Linked DNA regions of Homo sapiens: regions 1, 2 and 3 are each linked to region 4. Evidence: promoter capture Hi-C in human tissues and cell types (Jung and others, 2019). All regions are on one chromosome and are shown on one strand. Each heading gives the region's core, a stretch centred on a gene start or on the middle of the fragment in contact. The rest is flanking DNA. Distances are from core to core; before and after follow the strand shown.

Region 1 (2,700 bases), core at 153-2,652, 440 kb before region 4:
CTCCCCCCGCCTCCCAAACAGCACCACTGGGCAAAGCAGCCTTTTGTAGAATCAGCCAGTGGAAACTAACCCCCCACCCCCACCTTTAAACAAAGCCATTTAATTTGGTCTTAAGCCCAAGTAAGAAACAAAACAAAACAAAACAAAACAAAACAGAAAACGAATAAAGGACAATATAAAGAAGCATAGCTTGTCAGCATGAACCTACATGCAAGCCAGAGATCTATGATTTTGTTTCCCAGGGAGGGAGTGACTAATGCGCGCACCCTGACCATCACCGTAAAGAGGTAAAGAGAGAGTGAAATGGCTCAACGTACACACACCCCGCTCCATACCGGGGACGAGTCTCCGAGCTGCGGCTTGTGCTCTCGGAGGGCCAGGCTGAAGCTGACCGCCCCCACGGCCACGCTGGACACCCCCAGCCCTATCTCCAGCACGGAGAGCACCAAGAGGCTCCCAATAATCTGACCGCTGGTGCACATCCTTCCTCGGTCATCTTCCTTCCAGATCAGAGAGGGAAATCAACCATCTACCTTTTTTTCTTCCACTATCCTCCTTACCCCTTCCACCCCCTACCAGATCCCAAAACTTTTCTTTCTTCAAGAGCGAGGCATTATCCACAAGGGCTGGATTTCCAGAAACGAAGACCTTCCCTGGCTGGGCCAGAGGCAAAGGAGCTGCTCCACCCCCTGGCACGTTCAGATAGGGATCGTAGAAGGATCTTCCTGGGTTCGGTGGTGCGAAGATTGCACACCGGTACCGGGGCTTTTAAGCAGCGGAAAACCTGGAGGAGCCCAGGGAGCTCCGAGCCTTGCTCCCCAGGCGCTGTCCAGAGTTCTGCCGCGTCCCAAATCTCCGCAGGGAAACCCGCGCCCTCCTCAGCCTACTAGACCCTTTCACAGGGTCCCTTCTGTTTTATTGCCGAGGAGAGGAGCTTTGCTTCCCGGAGATCCAAAGGGAACCGCTCCGAGTTTCTCTCTCCCTCTCCCGTTCGTCACCTCTCCTTTGTTTTCGTGGCAATGCGAAGTGCTTCTGCAAGTCTCTGGGTCCCCAGGCAGAGCGGGCGGATGATATTCAGCACCACGCTCCTTGCAGTTGCTTTGTCGCCAGAAAAAGCGACCTTGTCTGATGGCCTCTTTCCGTCTGGGTTTCTTCTCCCTCGTCGTCGTCCTCTTCCTCCTCCTTTCTCTCGAGCTGATTCTCTTTCATTGCTATGACCTCATTGGGGTTTAGGAGGTTGACGGAGGAGGAAAAAGCCTAATGTATTTGTAGATCCAGGACCAGTACTCTTGGCTGGCCTTTGATCCGCCCCGCCCCCGGACCGCAGCAACAGAAATCCAGGCGACCCCTACCTCCGCTTCTCCCCGTGGCTCCTTTCTGGGCTTCTATCCAGCGGAGAGGGGAGGCGATGCCTACGTCAACGCGGGCTCATTCTGAGAAAAACTTTCTTTAGCTTGTACGCGGGGTAGGGGGAGCAGTGAGCAAAGAAAGACGGAAACCCCAGGGGGGTGGAAAAAGCCAGACTCCTAATGTCACTAGGACTCTCAAGGCCCCTCACCAAGGAACTCCCCTGTCTAGGAGAGCTAGATTCAAGCCTGCTTACAAGGAATGTCCACTCCCGGCCATCACAGCCTGTCACCTTCCGTGTCGTAGGGCGAAGAAGCAGTTGATGGGGGCCACACCTCCACGGTGATTTTGTTCCTCTCCAGCCACAGACCCTTGCTTTCCCCTAGGAGCGTGACCACACGTTCTGGGAGGCATAGCTAGACCCAACTGAGCTGGGATTATATATTCTCAACAAAATTCAAGAGATGTGTATGCATTAGAACAGGCATTATTTAAAAAAAAAACACGTCTGGCTTAATGCACAATTATTTTTGACAGTCTACTTTCATCAGAATCTTTAGGGCAGGGGCCAGTCCAGCTTGGCCTGGGATATTTTTGCATTGTCTTTTGATGCCTATGAGACTCTAGATGTCTAGGGATCGCTGTGTTTAGACCCCATTTTCATTACTCTAGTTTTATGAAAAATCTCAAGGTATTCTATCAAGGAGATCTAGGAAGTGGGATAAAGAGAGGGTTTTGGGTGTGGGTCATCTTTCTCAAAAACTGGGTTCTCCAGTTCGACATGGACTGAAGGAAAATAGAACAAAGGAAGATGAGGTTAGGGTACAATAACACAAGACTAGGGAATGTTGACTTCTATACATCAGTGCAGTGCAGGCGCCTCTATTAGAGGCTTCTTAAAGCTCCCATGATGAGAACATAAAAGCTCGGTGACCTATAGCATAAGTTCTGTAACATAAATGCCAGTTTCAGTTTTCTTAAATTTGATTAAGGGCTTCTTTTAGAGTTTAAACTCAATTCTACACTATAATTTTTTTCATATGTTTATATTCTATAATTTAAAAATTTGAATCCTTTTCTCTTAAAAATAAAACAAATGTAAGGAAGAAGAGTTACAATTTGTTAGGCCTTAAAGAGCTTCAGTTATTGTGATATTTGGAGTACAAATAAACATTGGTACTGAATGATAATTAGTGGATTCATTTCTATGCTTTTAAATCCTCAAAGACATGCTAAAGTACCTCATTAGTGTATGGCTTTAATGATGTAAAGTTTATTTAATTTAAATAATACAGAAGTCATCTAAATGATCCAATTTATATGCATAAATAATACAGCATATATGTTGTTGAA
Region 2 (2,700 bases), core at 86-2,585, 280 kb before region 4:
GCCAAGAACACACATTGGGGAATAGGCAGTCTCTTCAATAAATGGTTCTGAGAAAACTTAGATAGCTACAGGCAGAAGAATGAAATTAGACCCCTATGACTCACCATATACAAAAGAAAGCAACCCAAAATGGATTGAAGACTTAAATGTAAGACCCAAAACTATGAAACTACTAGAGGAAAACCTAAAAGAAACAAATTTATTTGAACCCAGTAACATCGTTCATATAACATTTAAAAACAGACTGTGAGGAACAGGGCTTATAATCATCTTTTCTGGTCAGGTAGCCCTCCTTATCTCTTAGACTTATATCTGTATATTAAGGGAAAATTCAAGTATTGAGCCAACTACCTCAATCTCCTTCCTCTGAAGTGATAATGATGTTTTCTGTTTCTGTTTTCATCTTGACTCTAATTGGAATAAACATTTTTTCAAGGGCCAAGATTATTACATATTTTAAAACTTCTGTAGTTCAGTATGTTCATAGTACATTAAAAAATTTGTGTATCTATCTACAGGTATTAATCCTGTCTCTCAGAGTGAGTTCCCATTGCTAGCATGAAAAACACAGACCACAAAAATTGAAATGGGTATTTCTATTCTCACTTCTCTCAAAAACAGAAATCTAAAACATATTAAGAGATTTTTCACAAGTCACATAACAAATCTGAGGTTGAGCCATAGACCCCATGGCTTCTCCCATTTTGCCATAGTAATCACCCTTTCATTTAAAAGTAAATATAAAATCTGTATTATTACTCTAAGTTATTATAATATCAAATAAGTGATAATTAACCCTATGTATCAGAAACTGTTTTAGGCAACAACATTTTCCTCTAAATACCAACTGGAATTTTGTTATTAAAAATAGTCTCTAAGTTTCCTATCTGTCCTCATCCTAGTTGCAAAGTTTGGCTCAATGGAAAGCATCATATGACTCTCACAGGGCACTGGAAATGTGTATTTCATGGTGCTCCGCATTAAGCATCTACTAGCAAAGGAACATGGCTTGGAGTCATATACTTGAATATTCTATTCATACATCTGTGTGAATGCAGAAAGTCCTCTTGATCTTTACAAGCCTCATTTTCCTAGACTATAATGAAATTTTCTTATTTATTTCAAAAAGTTTAAACATGAAAACAATGTAAAAAAAAATAAGCGCTGATGTTGTTAATACATTTCCCACAGCACCTGACTGTAAAGCATCATCTGCTTGGTGGGTCATTGCTAAATCCCTCCTTTCCCTTCCTGTCTATTTTCAATGTTTACTTTCACTTGTCTTCACAGAAGCCAGGATCATCTTCTGTGACATAACCTAGAGCATGCATGAACATTCATTATAAAGTGAAAAGCAGGGTTGTCTGTGATCAGTTCCCAAGGAATTCCATCCCCTGACTCAACAAGCATGAGACATGAGTCTTTTTCCCTCCAGTGGGAGGGCTACAACCATCCAGTCATCCTTGGGACATGTGATATTTGGGCAGTTTGCCTTTCCCAGCAATTTCCTAAAGATCTGCAGGATCCTTAACTCAGACAACCAGTTGCCTAGGTCAGACATCATAAGGCATTCTCAGGGTCAGCATGTGCATTAAAAACAAAAGAGCCGTCAAGGGGTGGGGTCTTCTCCTGGAACATAGCAGCAGTGTGGCCTGTAGGCCCTGAGCCAAGCACAACTCTCTTGAGGAGTGGTGACCACCTGCTCCCTCATAGTCCCTTTCTTGCCTTGCAAAGTGTCCCAAAAGCTTATCTGAATCCCATACCCCACCACGGTTAATTTCCTTACTTCTTAGTACCCACCTTACCATAATCCTTGGAAACAGACATCATGCCTTTTCCACTGTTTCTGCTTTTCTTTTTGTCCTCCAGTGCTTAACATGGCACGAGGCATATAGTAAACATGTAGTAAAGAGATTTAATGTATTAAACTATTAAGTTGCCAAGGAAGGACAGGAGGCCTAGAAAACCTGAATTGTTCAGGTTTACATAGAGATCATTTTCTTTCTATAAGGAAAATAGAAAAGATAAGTCTCAGAATTAATGTGGTTCAGATGGGCAGAGGGAAACCGGATAGGAGATAATAACAGAGGACTCGGAACAAATACTAATTATGTGTTCAGGGGAGGAAAAAAGGAACTCAATTAAGCCTTTTTGGATTCATGGACAAACCAGAGAGAAATGCAGAGACAAACACAAGTTTAGGGCTGCCTTGCTGTGAACACTCACTCTGCCTGGATTTACCCTGGGTGTCTAGCCAGCTTCCCCAGCACTTTTCCTGCGTGAGGCTGTATTGATTGCACAGGTTAAGTGGGGTGTCTTATTATTTGTGTAGGTCAGGCTTTCCTGTTATAACTTGCAGTTCATTTTCATTTATTTTAAAAATCAGCAAAAGCAAAAACACCCAGCTGCTGCCTGGGGTGCTCTTCTGCTGAGATGAAGGTTAAGATTTATCAGCTACATTCCCTATAACATTGTTTTGTCCAAGCAAACTCTCTCCCTCCTGTTTGCTTTAATTGTTGGAATAAATAGGGAGACATAAAGTAAAGGTAAATAGAGAGAAGCCAGTAATCATATCCTTTGGCTTTTCATTAGTCTCTATAGGTGTTAGGCAGTCAGTCAATAAGTTTTGAGCAACCTATTACTGAATGCATCAATATATGCTAATAACGGAATTTTTTGCCTCAGTTGGGTGCCATAAAT
Region 3 (2,700 bases), core at 135-2,634, 300 kb before region 4:
TCGTCTTCCAATAGAAGGCTGTTTCATCTACATTGAAAATCTGTTGTTTAGTGTAGCCACCTTCATCAATTATCTTAGCTAGATCTTTTGGATAACTTGCTTCAGTTTCTCCATCAGCACTTGCTGCACCTTCCACATTTATGTTCTAGAGATGGCTTCCTTCTTTAATCCCCATAAATCAACCTGTGTAGCATCAATCTTTTCCTCTCAGCTCCCTCTTCTCTCTCAGCCTTCACAGAATTGAAGAGTTAGGGCCTTGTTCTGGATTAGACTTTGGCTTAAGGGAATGTTGTGGCTGGTTTGATCTTCTATCTATACCACTAAAACTTTCTCCATAACAGCAATAGGTTTGTTTTGCTTTCTTATTATTTGCATGTATTTACTGGAGTAGTACTTCTAATTCTCTTAAATAATTTTTTCTTTGCATTCACAACTTGGCTAACTGGTGCAAGAGGCTAAGTTTTTGACCTGTCTCAACTTTCAATGTTCTTTCCTCACTAAGCTTAATCATTTATAGCTTGTGATTAAAAGTAAGAGACATCTAACCATTTCTTTCACTTGAACAATTAAGGACCATGGCAGAGCTATTAATTGGCCTAATTTCAATATTCTTGTGTCTGAGGACATAGAAAGGCCTGAGGAGCAGGAGAGAAATGGGGGAGTGGCCATTTGGTAGAGCACTCGGAAAACACACATTCATTGATTTAGTTCATTGTCATGGTGCACTCAAACAATTACAAAAGTAACATCAAAGGTCACTGATCACAGATCACCATAATAGGTATAATAATAATAAAAATATTGTAAATAATATGAGAATTATCAAAATCTGACACAGAGACATGAAGTGAGCACATCCTGTTACAAAAAAAATGGCCCCAATAGACTTGCTTGATACAGAGTTTCCACAAACCTTCAATTGGTTAAAAACTGCAGTATCTGTGAAACACAATTAAGTTAAACAGTATAAAATGAGATATTCCTGTATTAAGTTACTAAGTGGAGGTGTTTTAAAAGATACGAGAGACAGAAGAAAAAATCTATGCCTTGTCTTCTTGTCCACAGGGATCTCAATTTAGCTGAAAACAGAGACATATATGCCTTTAAAAAATAAAAATTAAAAAAGCTCATCTTGCATGTTTTGTGCATTCTGTTTCTACCTGGAACACTCTCTCTATCCCCTTGCCTGACTCTTCCTAGCTGACTCCTTTCCTTTAAGATTCTAACTAAAGCCTGCATTTTCAAGGAGGACTTTCCTGTTCCCAGGAGACTTACCTTGGAATTTCCTTATCAATCATTTAGCAGCATTCTGCACTTTCCCTTTTATTATCACCCTTTACAGCAGTGAGTTGCTTTTTGTCTCCTTTTTTGTCTACTTCTGAATTGAGAAGAAGCCCAATAAATTGAGAAGAAGTGTCAAATCAATAAAAACCTTTGAAGAGTAATTTTAAAAGTTAAAAACTAAATGCCATTGACAGTTTAAGAAGGAAAATGGGGACTTTAGGCAGCAGAAAAAAAATTCATATAGAAAGTTAGGGTCTGATATTTTTATTGGTAATAAAAATGAAGATGAAAGGTGGAATTATGCATGGTGATAAAAACTGATTGAAAGTGTGGATTCACACTTAAGGAAAAGTAAAAATTGCCATTCATTTCTGGCCTGTGAGTCACATCTAGAATCAGCCTTGACCTGGTTGACACATTACATTCTGCACATACCTAACAGCTCTAATTAATGTGTGTGCAGATCATCAAATGAGTTGGCATTAGTAGAAAAGAACAAAACAGTTTTTTTTTTTAATGTGGAGGATAATGGTTGAGCCAGCTTTCTGTTTTATTACTGCCAAATGGCTTGATCATGGAAGCAGTGCGCATAAAAATGTCAAAGGATTATGGAAAAAGCTATTCCTTCAGTTTTTAAATGGACATAAGATACTTATGGACTTGATAACAGGAGCTATTTTTTGTTGAATTTTCAACCAATTTTATAAAGCTTTCCTCTTAAGGAAAGTTATTGGTCTCAGAACTTTTAAAATTGAAAGAAATCATCCCAGGTTGCTGAATATGACTTTCTTTTTTTAGTTTCCTCATTCAGTAGAACATATTCTTTCCCTGATATATTGTTTCAATAGAAATTTGTATTGTTTTCATTTATCAGGGAAGTATGAAAGAACTGATTATGCTGAACAGATGGCAATGCCCATTACAGAATAAGGGCCAGAACAATTTCATGCAAGTTCATATCTTTGCAATGACATTACCAGTGATTACTAAAATATAATTTTAAATTTATCCAATCATTCTGTAAGATGTACAAAATTTCTCACTTATATTTTAAATTGCTAATTATTTTGCACATTTTTATTGTCTGTTATTAGACAGAAAATCCAGAAGGATGATTGTTTTCTAATATAAGTGCAATATTGCTTAGTTATTTGAATCTTAAAATGAGTGAACATGAGACTGTTGTAAGTCTCAACAAAGACAAATAAATAAAAGGGTAATTTATTCATTTATTTATGAATAAATTGGATTTTTTAGTGATGATCTTCATCTAATAAACATAGATCCTCAAATTCATATCAATCATTGCTCATTGTTAACATGTAATTGGGGGATTCATAATTATTTTTCTAAGGTCTAGGTAAAAAGATTGTAGGGTCTGTTAATAATTTATTTCATCACGGGTTCTGCATGGTA
Region 4 (2,748 bases), core at 145-2,644:
TCATAATTTCTAGATTCTGTACACTACCCATGAAATCATATTAAAAATCGCTATTATGAATAAAAGATAATCATGTAATTAAGTTCAGGGGGGCATAAAAGAATCACCACTGAGGTTAAGACAACTTTAAGAATATACCTGAAATTCATCATTATCACCCAGTAATTGCTATGTAAAAACCAGACATTAACATAGATAAGTCAATATCAATCCTAAATTAGACCCACTGAATATAGACTTAAGACATTTTTAGGAAATTAGGAAGACCTTTAATAAATGGAAGGCATTGGAATTTTCACTACATGCTTTTTGATCTTAAAAATAAATTTTTTAAAATCTATCTTTATTAATTGTGGTAAAAAACTTAACATACAATTTACCATCCTAACCATTTGTAAGTGTTTACACTTACAAATTTTAAGTTCAATAGTATTAAATATATTTACATTATTGTACAGTCTCCAAGTGTTTTCATCTTGTAAACTGAAACTCTATATCCATTAAACAACTCTCATTTCTCCTTCCCCCAAGCCCCTGGCAACTACCATTCTAAGTATCATTTATGTGAGTTTGACTACTCCAGATACCTCAGGTAAGTTGAATCATCCAGTATTTGTCTTTTTGTTTCTTTGGTGTGTTTTCCAAGCTTAATTGAAACTTAATTAGGATGAAGCCAAGTTACCCTCCATCATGTATCATCTGTCTATTCAGTACAATGCACTGTGCTAATTTAATGACCCCCTTAACTTAATTACATGATTATCTTTTATTCATAATTTAATGCTATTAACCTAATGAGGTAGGTTATGCACACACACTTTACAGATGAGGAAACTGAGACTTTGCGAGGTGAAACATCTTGTCAATGGTCATAAATCTAATAAGCAGTGGGGCTGCTGATTGCAACTTTATCTATCTTCAAAGCACAGTCTTTTTAACATACCTGTATGCTTTTTGAGATATTTAAAGTTTTTAGGGGATTTCAGCCATCTACATATTTTAAGCAACTCATAGAGTGTTTTGTTTTTGCCTTTGATGGTTAATGTGACCTGGGTTCCTCCTTTTTTTTAAAATAAACTACTTTATTCTAAACCATGTCTCAAGGTATTATTCTATTCTATGTCATGAGGTTTATTCTAACACATGTCCCATAAGCCCACAGAATACCAGTTACCTTCCCTTTATTTAAGCAGGGCTTGATTTGTTAAGCAGCTGGTTTGTTACATTTTTCTGGAAATTATACAACTTCCTAGTGTGTAGCACATATCAATAGTGAAAGGAATATTATTTTTAAAAAATCAGCACTTACATTTGTGGAAGTGAGCCCAAGCTTCTTCAGTTCAGACACATGGTTTTAGTGAATAGAAGTCACTCTACCAAACCCGGGTACTCTTCAAACATGCCTTGCTCCGTATGCAGGCAGGCAACTGCACCCCTGCTTCCTGAGCCACCTGGGACTTGAAGTTCTACCACTGTGGCTCCAAAGCTGCCCAACTAGAAACCCCAAAAGGCAAGAGAACTACGATACCCACAATTCAGGCTCCTCACCCGAAACCAGAAGAGGGCGTATGGCTAGAGTTTCACCCTAAGAAGAAAGGGGAAGCAGGTGGAAAAGCAATTAAAAAAAAATCAGGTGAGTATATCTAAGAACCATCTGTAAATATAATCTTATTTCCATGAAAGGAAATAAAAGTGGTTTAATGTTTGCCAGGGAGTAAGAAGGCACCCTCAGTGTTAGCAATAAGTAAAAAATATTTATGCAAGCAAATCCTCATGCAGCTGGAACTTGCCCCACCAGATTCTCTTTCGGTGATTCAGAGCTGAAGGTGCCTCACTGCCCTGTGGAACAGGTGAATAAAGCCTTCCCAGGTGAGTGACAGTGTCTAACTAGTTCCCCCTTTCCCTCTACATCAGCACTGTGATTGTCACTCAAAGACATAGACATATAGACATAATGGAGACCTTTTGGCATTTCATCTTCTAAAATGCTCTGGATTTTTAAGATAACACTTTAAAATGTGCCTTTTAAAATATAAGCAAGAATAAAGTTTTCTTGATATTTTCTTCCATTTTACTTTCCATTTCTGTGTTTTGTGTTTTCCTTCTGTGTATTTTGTTCAAAATTCAAGAAAGAGAAAATTAGGGGAAAGGGGAAAAAAGGTAAAACTTAGTGAAATGAAATGTGCAATAATTGTTTCACATTTTTTTCCAACATCAGCAACAGAGAATGTTTAAAACAAATGTGTTTCTCTATTTGTTCATACAGCATCTCTCTCTAGCCTATTATCTCCTGTTAGACACAGCCCAGAAAATGAATAGAGACAAGTCCTGGCTGGGTCTGGGTTCAGAAACATAATAGAAGGATTCATCTAATGTAAGTAGATGGCAGAATGGTGACAAAGAAAAAGTTTCCTTTCCCTTTTCTGCACTTTCTCTCCTACTGTTCTAACCACCCCTTCCTCCCTGATGCATCCCTGGCTTCATGCTGCCAGATCACCTAATCCACCCAGATTCCCTTTGAAGTTTCCCCTTGACTCATCCCACAATCCAAACTGAGCTGTTCTGTTTCTTTTTGTCACAGGTTCCTCAACTCTCTACTAGAACCTAGCTTTCCTTTATGTCATTATATTATTTCCAAAACAAATGGTTCTTAATTTCCCCAAACCCTACAGAGGGCATTCTGCATGGCATTTCTCCTCCCTGAAACCATTTTTGCTCATCTTGAAATGTTCAGAGATTTCATTTTTT

What was found. The method cuts DNA at HindIII sites, captures the fragments that hold promoters and counts their contacts. A contact is called where the count stands out against the background at its distance.
Region 1: the fragment with the promoter of TMEM196 here is called in contact with the fragment with the promoter of MACC1 in region 4 in 4 of the 25 tissues and cell types used here (liver, mesendoderm cells, neural progenitor cells and 1 more).
Region 2: a fragment that was not itself captured here is called in contact with the fragment with the promoter of MACC1 in region 4 in 1 of the 25 tissues and cell types used here (mesenchymal stem cells).
Region 3: a fragment that was not itself captured here is called in contact with the fragment with the promoter of MACC1 in region 4 in 3 of the 25 tissues and cell types used here (aorta, dorsolateral prefrontal cortex and thymus).

What each region holds. Positions count from the first base shown.
Region 1 is chr7:19,772,215-19,774,914 of GRCh38, forward strand. TMEM196 (transmembrane protein 196) reads right to left here and starts at 1,403. Exons shown (of 5, transcript NM_001363562.2): 1 at 336-1,403. The coding sequence starts at 482. All of the region lies in intron 1 of LOC107986774 (a long non-coding RNA gene), which reads left to right. The HindIII fragment of the contact is 12,021 bases long and covers 1-2,700 here.
Region 2 is chr7:19,938,547-19,941,246 of GRCh38, forward strand. All of the region lies in intron 5 of MACC1-OT1 (MACC1 3' UTR overlapping transcript 1), which reads right to left. Among named protein-coding and RNA genes, the nearest start is that of TMEM196, 170 kb to the left of the region's middle. The HindIII fragment of the contact is 6,182 bases long and covers 1-2,700 here.
Region 3 is chr7:19,914,508-19,917,207 of GRCh38, forward strand. No RefSeq gene overlaps it. Among named protein-coding and RNA genes, the nearest start is that of TMEM196, 140 kb to the left of the region's middle. The HindIII fragment of the contact is 6,210 bases long and covers 1-2,700 here.
Region 4 is chr7:20,215,990-20,218,737 of GRCh38, forward strand. It overlaps MACC1 (MET transcriptional regulator MACC1), which reads right to left and starts at 1,395. Exons shown (of 7, transcript NM_182762.4): 1 at 1,310-1,395. GIRGL (glutamine insufficiency regulator of glutaminase lncRNA) reads left to right here and starts at 1,588. Exons shown (of 4, transcript NR_134569.1): 1 at 1,588-1,633; 2 at 2,267-2,374. RefSeq lists an enhancer at 1,220-2,419. The HindIII fragment of the contact is 10,614 bases long and covers 989-2,748 here.